2 separate regions of the Homo sapiens genome follow, and region 2 is linked to region 1. Evidence: promoter capture Hi-C in 16 types of primary human blood cells and fetal thymus (Javierre and others, 2016). All regions are on one chromosome and are shown on one strand. The core of a region is centred on a gene start or on the middle of the fragment in contact, and the rest is flanking DNA. Distances in the headings are between cores, read along the strand shown.

The links. The method cuts DNA at HindIII sites, captures the fragments that hold promoters and counts their contacts. A CHiCAGO score of 5 or more calls a contact.
Region 2: a fragment that was not itself captured here is called in contact with the fragment with the promoter of PTPMT1 in region 1 in 1 of 17 cell types (neutrophils); the score reaches 5.2 in neutrophils.

Annotation. Positions count from the first base shown.
Region 1 is chr11:47,563,066-47,568,214 of GRCh38, forward strand. PTPMT1 (protein tyrosine phosphatase mitochondrial 1) reads left to right here and starts at 2,534. Exons shown (of 4, transcript NM_175732.3): 1 at 2,534-2,731; 2 at 2,841-2,921. The coding sequence starts at 2,558. It also overlaps a transcript of CELF1 not described here. RefSeq lists enhancers at 2,045-2,545, 2,546-3,046 and silencers at 2,356-2,835, 2,966-3,045. The HindIII fragment of the contact is 17,352 bases long and covers 1-5,149 here.
Region 2 is chr11:47,248,186-47,253,022 of GRCh38, forward strand. ACP2 (acid phosphatase 2, lysosomal) reads right to left here and starts at 629. Exons shown (of 11, transcript NM_001610.4): 1 at 491-629. The coding sequence starts at 604. It also overlaps a transcript of NR1H3 not described here. RefSeq lists enhancers at 95-184, 315-824 and a silencer at 905-1,072. The HindIII fragment of the contact is 3,279 bases long and covers 1,190-4,468 here.

The DNA of each region.
Region 1 (5,149 bases), core at 1,284-3,783:
ATTAGCCAGGTATCGTGGCACACGTCTGTAGTCTCAACTCCTTGGGAGGCTGAGGTAGGAGGACTGCTTGCACCCAAAAGGTCGGGGCTACAGTGAGTCATGATCACGCTGCCACTGCACTCTAGCCTGGGTGACAGTGAGACCCTGTTTCCTAGAAAAAAAAAAAAGAAAAGTAAAAAGAAGAAATGCCCTCAACATGCTAAACATGTAAATCTATACAGTCAGAAAGCAGGTTAGTAGTGTTTGCCTAAGGCTGGAGGATGATTGGGAGAAAATGGTGAGTCTCTGCTAATTCATAAGGGGCTTATTTTGAGGGCAATGAAAATATTCTAAAATTAGGCTGGGTGCGGTGGCTCATGCCTGTAATCCCAGCACTTTGGGAGACCAAGGCGGGTGGAACACCTGAGGTCAGGAGTTCAAGAGCAGCCCGGCCAACATGGTGAAACCCCATCTCTATTAAAAACACACACAAAATTAGCCAGGCATGGTGGCGGGCACCTGTAGTTCTAGCTACTGGGGAGGATGAGGCAGGAGAACTGCTTGAACCCGGGAGGTGGAGGTTGCAGTGAGTGGAGATGGCGCCACTACACTTCAGCCTAGTCAATAGAAGGAGACTCCGTCTCAAAAACAAAATATAAAAAAAAGAAAATGAATCTTTTAAAACCACCAGATGGGCCGGGCATGGTGGCTTATGCCTGTAATCCCGGCACTTTGGAAGGCCGAGGGGGACGGATCTCCTCAGGTCAGGACTTTGAGACCAGTCTGGCCAACATGGTGAAACCCTGTCTCTACTAAAAATACAAAACTTAGCTGGGCGTGGTGGCAGCTACTCGGGAGGCTGAGGCAGGAGAATTGCTTGAACCTGGGAGGCAGAGGTTGCAGTGAGCTGAGATCACGCCATTGCACTCCAGCTTGGGTGACAAGAGTGAAACTCTATCTTAAAAACAAACAAACAAACAAAATCTCCACCAGATGCTTGGGCCGGGCGTGTGGCTCATGCCTGTAATCCCAACACTTTGGGAGGCTGAGGCTGGCAGATCACCATAGGTCAGGAGTTCAAGACTAGCCTGGCCAACATGGTGAAACCCCATCTCTACTAAAAATACAAAAAAAAAAAAAAAAAAAAAAAGAAAGCCGGGCGCGGTGGCTCATGCCTGTAATCCTGGCACTTTGGGAGGCCAGGGGGATGGATCACCTGAGGTCAGGAGTTTGAGACCAGCCTGGTCAACATGTTGAAGCCATCTCACTAAAAATACAAAACTTAGCTGGGCGTGGTGACATGTACCTGTAATCCCAGCTACTCGGGAGGCTGAGGCAGGAGAATTGCTTGAACCTGGGAGGCAGAGGTTGCAGTGTGCTGAGATCACGCCATTGCACTGCAGCTTGGGTGACAATAGTGAAACTCTGTCTCAAAAACAAAAAACAAAAAACAAAAACTCCACCAGATGCTTGGGCCGGGTGCAGTGGCTCATGCCTGTAATGCCAGCACTTTGGGAGGCTGAGGTGGGCGGATCACCTTAGGTTCGAGACCAGCCTGGCTGACAAGGTGAAACCTCGTCTCTACTAAAAACAAAAGTTAGCTGGGTGTGGTGGCATGCACCTGTAATCCCAGCTACTCAGGAGGCTGAGGCAGGAGAATCGTTTGAACCCGGGAGGCGGAGGTTGCAGTGAGCTGAGATCTTGCGACTGCCCTCTAGCCTGGGCAACAGAGTGAGACTCCGTCTCAAAACAAACAAACAAAAAGTAAATAGCTGGCATTACAACCATTCTTCTTACCTTTTTGTAGGTTGCAGGTTTTATATTTGAGCTCTTCATAATATTTTTCTTAAGGATATATTAATATAATGTATATTTTCCTATTTTTTCCTGCTATGTAAACACTGCTGTTTGGTCAGATGAAGGAGGGAGCCCTGCCCTAGGACAGGGGAGGGGAGGAGGAAGGCGACCTCAACCCAGGACCCCTGTTCACCCTGGGATCAGGCCCTCACCCAGGTAGCTCCTCTGTTTGAAAGCTCTAAGCCCTTCCACTGTCCTCTTCAGGGCTACCCCGCCACACAGCCTCTCCTTGTCTTGTCTTCCCTTTGGCGGGGTCACACCCGCACCTGGGTCACTGCCCCCTTCCTCTGGTCGAGGGTTGGGGGGAGTGTCCCCTCCTCCCTCGGCCGGAGTCACAGTTCCACACGCAGGGGTCCTTCCTGCCCCTCTCACCTGGGGTCACAACCCCCCTCCCTCGGAGGAGGGAGGTCACCGGCCACAGGCGGGGGCCTCAGTTTCCCACGCTACAGGGCTCACACGTGTCTGGCCTGCGACGCGCTCTCCCTTCGCCGGGGTCCCAGTTTCCCGCCCAGGAAACCTCGGTCCCTCCTCCGAGGCCGCCGGGCCCTCCTCCAGAGTCCCGCCAGTCCCCCAGAGTCCAGGCCAGTCCCCGCCGTCACCCGGTGCGAGCCCGCGAGAGGCCTAGTGCAGCTGGCAGCCCCGCCCCGGCACCCGCCTGCTCTTCTCGCGGGTCCGGACCGCGAGCGCGGGGGCCGACGGGTCGCCGCTGCGCCGGGCCGGGATGGCGGCCACCGCGCTGCTGGAGGCCGGCCTGGCGCGGGTGCTCTTCTACCCGACGCTGCTCTACACCCTGTTCCGCGGGAAGGTGCCGGGTCGGGCGCACCGGGACTGGTACCACCGCATCGACCCCACCGTGCTGCTGGGCGCGCTGCCGTTGCGGAGCTTGACGCGCCAGGTGAGCCGGGCCGGGGAGCCCGGGCCCCTGCCCCGTCCCCGCCGCTCCGTCCCTGTCGGGCCGCTGGGGTCTCCACCGTCTTTGCTGAGCCACCTCTTTGCCTCGGCAGCTGGTACAGGACGAGAACGTGCGCGGGGTGATCACCATGAACGAGGAGTACGAGACGAGGTTCCTGTGCAACTCTTCACAGGTGAGGGACCGGGCCGAGGGGCAGGCTCGGGGGCCCGCTCCCCCTCGCCCACCGCCCTGAGCCTGGGACGGCTAGAGAAGTGTGGGGGAGGTCACCATGCACCGGAGCCAGGTGTCTCAAGCTGCTTTGCCTCCGGTCTGTGCCTCTAAATGGCACCTGGAGGTAGGCTAGAAGCTGTGAAAGGCGTTTATTTAAAAGTTCAAGTTGGGCCGGGCGCGGGGACTCACGCCTGTAATCCCAGCACTTTGGGAGGCGGGAGGAGGAGGCGGGCAGATCACTTGAGCCCAGGAGTTCCTGACCAGCCTGGGCAACATGGCGAGGCCCCCGTCCCTACAAAAATACAAAAAGTAGCCGGGAGTGGTGGCGTGCGCCTGTACTCCCAGCTACTTGGGAGGCTAAGGCAGGAGAATCACTTTAGCCCGGGAGGTGGAGGTTGCAGTGAGCCGACATCTCGCCATTGCATTCCAGCCCAGCCTTGGGCGACAGGAGTGAAACAATGTCTCAAAAAAAAAAAAAAAAAAAGTGGAAGTTGACAAAGCCTGATTTCTCCTTTGTGAACAAATGTAATGTATTCTTATTTCGGTAACCAAAATCAGAAACTAAAATTGAAAGGCAACTTTCCCATGCCTTCCTGATTTCATTCATTCTTTCTATACTTTGAGCTCTGAGTATGGGTCAGCATTCCCAGTGTTAGGGATTCCAGATGAAGGCCCTGCCAACTGTAAGACGAAAAGCACCCCCTTAACACTCTCCCCTCCCCAGATTTTTCATAAAACTATCCATTGAAAACTGTAGAGTTCATTTGGCTCTGATTTGGGGGAATTTTTAGTCATATATTAGAAATCATGGTGGAACTCCAAAGTTCTCTCATAACAAAGTTTAGGCCTAAAACATAACTTTCATTAAATGTGACTGGCCTGTTTGTGGAATCTTCCACAATGGTTATTAGAAGATGTTATCTACAATCTGAGCTATTTGATTTTTTTTTAATGTTGCCCTATCTTTATAGCGTTTGGCATCTAATAGCACTAAACAATTATCTTTCTCATTTGTTTTACTGATATAGCATGATGAAGATACTATTATTTCAACCTGAGGATTTTTTTGAAACCTTGAAAATATTTGTGACTTGGCCAGGCGTGGTGGCTCTCACACCTGTAATCCCAGCACTTTGGGAGGCTGAGGTGGGTGGATCACCTGAGGTCAGGAGTTTGAGATCAGCCTGGCCAAAATGGTGAAACCCCGTCTGTACTAAAATCACACAAAAAAATTAGCCGGGCGTGGTGGCAGGCGCCTGTAATCCTAGCTACTTGGGAGGCTGAGGCAGGAGAATCGCTTGAACCCGGGAGGCAGAAGTTGCAGTGGGCCGAGATTGCACCACTGCACGCCAGCCTGGGCGACAGAGTGAGTCTCCGTCTCAAAAAAAAAAAAGAATTACTGATCTTCATTTAGAACCATAAAGTCTCTGATACTCATTATTAAGAGGTTAATAACAAGAGTAGCTGGAGCATATCTGAAGTCTTAAAGCATAAAGTTTGCCCAGTTGCCAGAGACCTTATTTCTATTTCTTTTCTTTTTTTTTTTTTTTTTTTGAGATGGAGTCTCACTCCCTTGCCCAGGCTGGAGTGCAATGGTGCAATCTCAGCTCACTGCAACCTCTGCCTCCCAGTTCAAGTGATTCTCCTGCCTCAGCCTCCCAAGTAGCTGGAATTACAGGTGCCTGCCAGCATGCCTGGCTAATTTTTGTATTTTTTATGGAGATAGGGTTTTGCCATGCTGGCCAAAGTCGTCTCGAACTCCTGACCTCAGGTGATCTGCCCACCTTGGCCTCTCAAAATCTGGGATTACAGGCGTGAGCCACCACACCTGGCCACCTATTTCTTCTAAGTGATAACATTGCACTAATGAAGGTCAGTGCATTGTTTTAATTTTATTTTTGTTTTTGTTTTTGAGACGGAGTCTTGCTCTGTCGCCTAGGCTGGAAGTGCAGTGGCACGATCTCGGCTCACTGCAAGCTCCGCCTCCTGGGTTCATGCCATTCTCCTGCCTCAGCCTCCCAAGTAGCTGGGACTACAGGCGCCTGCCACCATGCCCGGCTAATTTTTTTGTATTTTTAGTAGAGACGGGGTTTCACCGTGTTAGCCAGGATGGTCTAAATCTCCTGACCTCGTGATCCGCCCGCCTTGGCCTCCCAAAGTGCTGGGATTACAGGCATGAGCCACCATGCC
Region 2 (4,837 bases), core at 1,579-4,078, 310 kb before region 1:
ACCCAGAGCCTACCTTTTGCCCCATGTTAGGGAAGGAAGTCTCATTCCCTCTGGGAAGCCTACTGGCTGCAAAAGACCCCAGCTAGGAGTCAGTCACTTCTTCCAGATTCCAGAGATTCTAACTTAGCTAAGCAATGCTACTGGAGACCATAGGCAAAGCCAAGGTACAGGTAGGAAGGGAAAAGAGAAGTGAAAGCAACGTATGTGGTGGGGACAACTGGGGAAAAAAGATAACCAAAGGCTTCTTTAGGGATGAGTCTTAACCATTCAACCACTTCCCTGTCTCAAGGCAGACTCACCCCGACGTATTCGGTCATCCTGACTCCCATAAGCCAGGGCTCCAGGTCAATCCTGAATCCAGCCTCCCAACTACCCAGGCCAGTCGTCCCCTCCTAAACCAGCTGTTCCTTCCCGAGATCCTCGACCTCCACCAGCTGGCCTTTGCCCTTTTAGCTTCAGGGAAGTCTTTGGTGAGCCCATCTCTCATTACCAAGGTAACGAAGCGCAGACTCCGGGCCCGGGTGGGCGGCATCACCACCAGGTTCACGCCGAGAAGGAGCTGGAGGAGAGCCGCCCGGCTCCAGCCGGACCGCTTGCCCGCCATCACCGTTGTAATCTATGCAGCAAACAAGCTGGAACCCGCTGGGTGGCACCTGCAAGCAGCCGCCCGGACGCACCCGTAAGGACACACGCCGGAAGTGCGTTCGCCGCCATCTTACTTAGGGACCTGCTGGGGTGCGGGGAAAAGGCGCAGTCTCGGTGGGATTGCGTGCAGGAGGGTCGTGGTCTGGCTGTGGCGGAGGAGCATAAGAAGGTAACGCGACCTGGCGCGGCAGACAGGGCTCGAAGACCTCATCTTGATTAAGAAGGCCACAAATTCGCGTTTGCCTCTGCTCGGAGAAATCCCTTACCAAGGTGGCACTTGCAGTGGGCGGGACCATGTCTGGAGAACCAGCGTCCCCTCCAGGCTTGACCCCATAGCTAGATCGGGTGCAGAATTGAGGCGAGGGATGGGAAAGTAGAGGTCGCTTCTCTCCACGCCCCTGCCTTTGTGGGGAGATTGAGCCCTGGCCCTGTTCTCCAGGAGATGTTTTGCTTGGGGTGCAGGACACAGTATGTAAACAACCCTTTGGACTCCGTGTGTCCTTGAGGTTGCCCCAGTCTGGCCTACCGTTCCTGCCCTGCACAAAGCTTCAGTAGCCCTCTCACTTTCCCTTCCAGTCCTTTCCCTGTCCTCCCTCCCCTCCACTTCCAAGTTTTAGTTAATTAGAGTCAAGACGTCATGTCATGCCTCTTCCCAAAGGAGTTGGGTTGCACAGGATGTTCAGACTTTACAAACCCAAAGCACTGAATCCCTGGGGGAGGAATTTCAGACCAGTGGGGAGGTATTTTGAGGTAAGGGACAGGCGCATATCATAAAGTGGGAGTAGGTGGGGTTTCCACAGAATCAATGGCCCTCTTGGCATTGACCATTAGGATTCAGGTGCAGCCAGTTTGGCCTCAGGACTTTGTGACTCCTGTGACGGTTGCAGGTCAGATCATAGGTCCTGGGGATGCTTTGATTCAGATCTGCCTACTGGAAGCAAATCTCCTCAGATCTTTGGGAAACAAAACTGATCAGGCTTGGCCTGGGCGCCGTGGCTCACCTGTAATACCAGCACTTTGAGAGGCCGAAGCAGGCAGATCACCTGAGGTCAGGAGTTCGAGACCAGCCTGGCCAACGTGGCGAAACCCCGTCTCTACTAAAAATACAAAAAAAAAAAAATTAGCCGGGTGCAGTGGCGTGCTCCTGTAATCCCAGCTACTCTGGAGGCTGAGGCAGGAGAATCGCTTGAACTCGGAAAGCGGAGGTTGCAGTGAGCTGAGATCACGCCACTGCACTCCAGCCTGCGCGACAGAGTGAGACTGTCTCAAAACAACAACAACAAAAACCTGATTAGGCTTGGTGTGGTGGCTCACGTTTCTAATCCCAGCACTTTGGGAGGCCAGGGTGGGAAGATTGCTTGAGCCCAGGAGTTGGAGACCAGCCTGAGCAGCTTAGGAAGATCTCCTCTCTACAAAAAAAAGTTTAAAAATTAGCTGGGTGTGGTGGCACACACCTGTGGTCCTAGCTCCTCGGGAGGCTGAGGTGGGAGGATCACCTTCAGCCCAGGAGGTTGAGGCTGCAGTGAGCCATGATGGTGCAACTGCACTCCAGTCTAGATGACAGAGCAAGACTGTGTCTCAAAAAGAAGAAAAGAAAAAAAAAGATCAGGATTATCTGTCTTTATTTTGTCCTAGGACTCCAGATTCAATTATTTATATATACTTCAGGATTTAAACTTTGCTTCCAGAGTTGTCATGGAGGAGGCCAAGAAGCAAATAGAGTAAGAGCCAAAGCCTGGGTAGCCAAACAGTTCTTAACCTTCTTATTTAATCACAAGCCCCTTTATGAATCACATGAAAATTTTGCACCTCTCCTCCAGAAAAATGTTCACACATATAAACACACACATGGAATTTTGCATATAATCCCAAATGGTTCACAAAGACCATTTATTACAGGTTTCATAAATCAGCATCTCTGAATACCTGATTTAACCTAGTCCTCTTACTTTACAGCTTAGGAAACAAACCTAAAGAGAGGAAGTGACTTGCCCAAATTCACAGTTTGGGCATGGGCACAGTTTGAGAATGGATTAAAAGTCAAGTTTTGGCCGGGTGCGTGCTCACGCCTGTAATCCCGGCACTTTGGGAGGCCGAGGCGGGTGGATCACGAGGTCAGGAGATCAAGACCATCCTGGCTAACATGGTGAAACCCCATCTCTACTAAAAATACAAAAAGTTAGCCGGGTGTGGTGGCAGGTGCCGGTAGTCCCAGCTACTCAGGAGGCTGAGGCAGGAGAATGTCGTGAACCCAGCAGGCGGAGCTTGCAGTGAGCGGAGATCGTGCCACTGCACCCCAGCCTGGGCGACAGAGCAAGACTCCGTCTCAAAAAAAAAAAGTCAGGTTTTGTGATTTTCAGTTAAATAGTCTATAATGGGCTGCTTCTTGCAGGCTACTCAAACTGCATTACTAAACTGTAATTGGTGATCCCGAAATCCTTTCAATAAAGAGGTATCTGTCAAAGGAAACCTTTTCAAATTAGTTGGACTAAACGGGACCTAGGCCGGACATGGCTCACACCTGTAATCCCAGCACTTTGGGAGGACGAGGCGGGTGGATCACCTGAGGTCAGCAGTTCAAGACCAGCCTGGCCACCATGGTGAAACCCCATCTCTACTAAAAATACAAAAATTAGCCAGTCGTGGTGGCGTGTGCCTGTAATCCCAGCTACCGGGGAGGCTGAGACAGGAGAATCACTTGAACCCAGGATACAGAGGCTGCCGTGAGCCGAGATTGTGCCACTTCACTCCAGCCTGGGCAACAGAGCGAGACTCTGTCTCAAAAAAAAAAATAAAATAAAGAGGGCTTGGGTAATTGGCAAAATGCTGCATATTAGTGGTAGTGGGAGGCAGTTGAGTGTTTTGTTTTAATGGGCCTCTTACTCCTTGCAAACTAGCCAGACCATTGTACTTTCAGAGTGTAAATCTTTGGCTCACCAAATTTCAGCTATCTCTCAAATTCAGCTTTTGCTTTTCTTCCCACTTGCTCAAATATGTCTATATTCTTTGTGCATGCAAGTATCCCACGTAGGAGGGATTGATGAAGCAGATACTATTTCAGTTTTTATAGGGAGAAACTATTCCAGGAAGGGTGGGGATTACAGCGCAAGTAGATAGTAGAGCCTGAAGCTGAGCCCTAGTTTCTTCACCCCTTTGCCTTCAGCTTTTGCATTTTCTGCCAGATGATTCTGTGGTTCTTACACTTTGGTTCGTAACTACAGGTGCAAAAAAAAAAAAGAAAAAAAAAAAACACATGTAGATAGATGGATATGTGGGCCTATCCCAGATCAAATAAATCAGAATCTCTGAAGGTGAGGACAGGAACCACTACCATATTCTGTGTTGGCAGAAGCAAACCTAAATCCAGGTATGTTAGCCATTTTTTTTCCATCTGAAGAGGCAGTTTTTGTTTTGTTTTGTTGTTGTTGTTGTTGTTGTTGTTGTTTTTGAGATGGAGTTTTGCTCTTGTTGCCCAGGCTGGAGTGCAATGGCGTTATCTCGGCTCACAGCAACCTCCGCCTCCCGGGTTCAAGCGATTCTCCTGCCTCAGCCTCCCGAGTAGCTGGGATTACAGGCATGTGCCACCACGCCTGGCTAATTTTGTATTTTTAGTAGAGACAGCTTCTCCATGTTGGTCAGGCTGGTCTCGAACTCCCGACCTCAGGTGATCTGCCCATTTTGGCCTCCCAAAGTGCTGGGATTACAGGTGTGAGCCACCGCACCCACCCGGCTGTTTTTTTTGTTTGTTTTGTTTTGTTTTTGTGACAGAGTCTCCCACTGTCGCCCAGGCTGGAGTGCAGTGGCACAGTCTCGGCTCACTGCAAGCTTCACCTCCCAGGTTCACGCCATTCTCCTGCCTCAGCCTCTCGAGTAGCTGGGACTACAGGCACCTGCCACCACACCTGGCTAATTTTTTTGGCTTTTTTTTTTTGTATTTTTAGTAGAGACAGGGTTTCGCCGTGTTAGCCTGACCTAGTGATCCACCCACTCGGCCTCCCAAAGTGCTGGGATTACAGGCATGAGCTACTGCGCCCGGCCCCAGCCGGCAGTTTTATATAATGGAGTGTATTTGTGATTTTTGTTTGTTTGAGCTTGAGCTCAAACTTTTGAATCAGCTAAACTTGTATTCTTTTTTTTTTTTTTTTTTTGAGACAGTCTCCCTCTGTCACCCAGGCTGGAGTGCAGTGGTGCA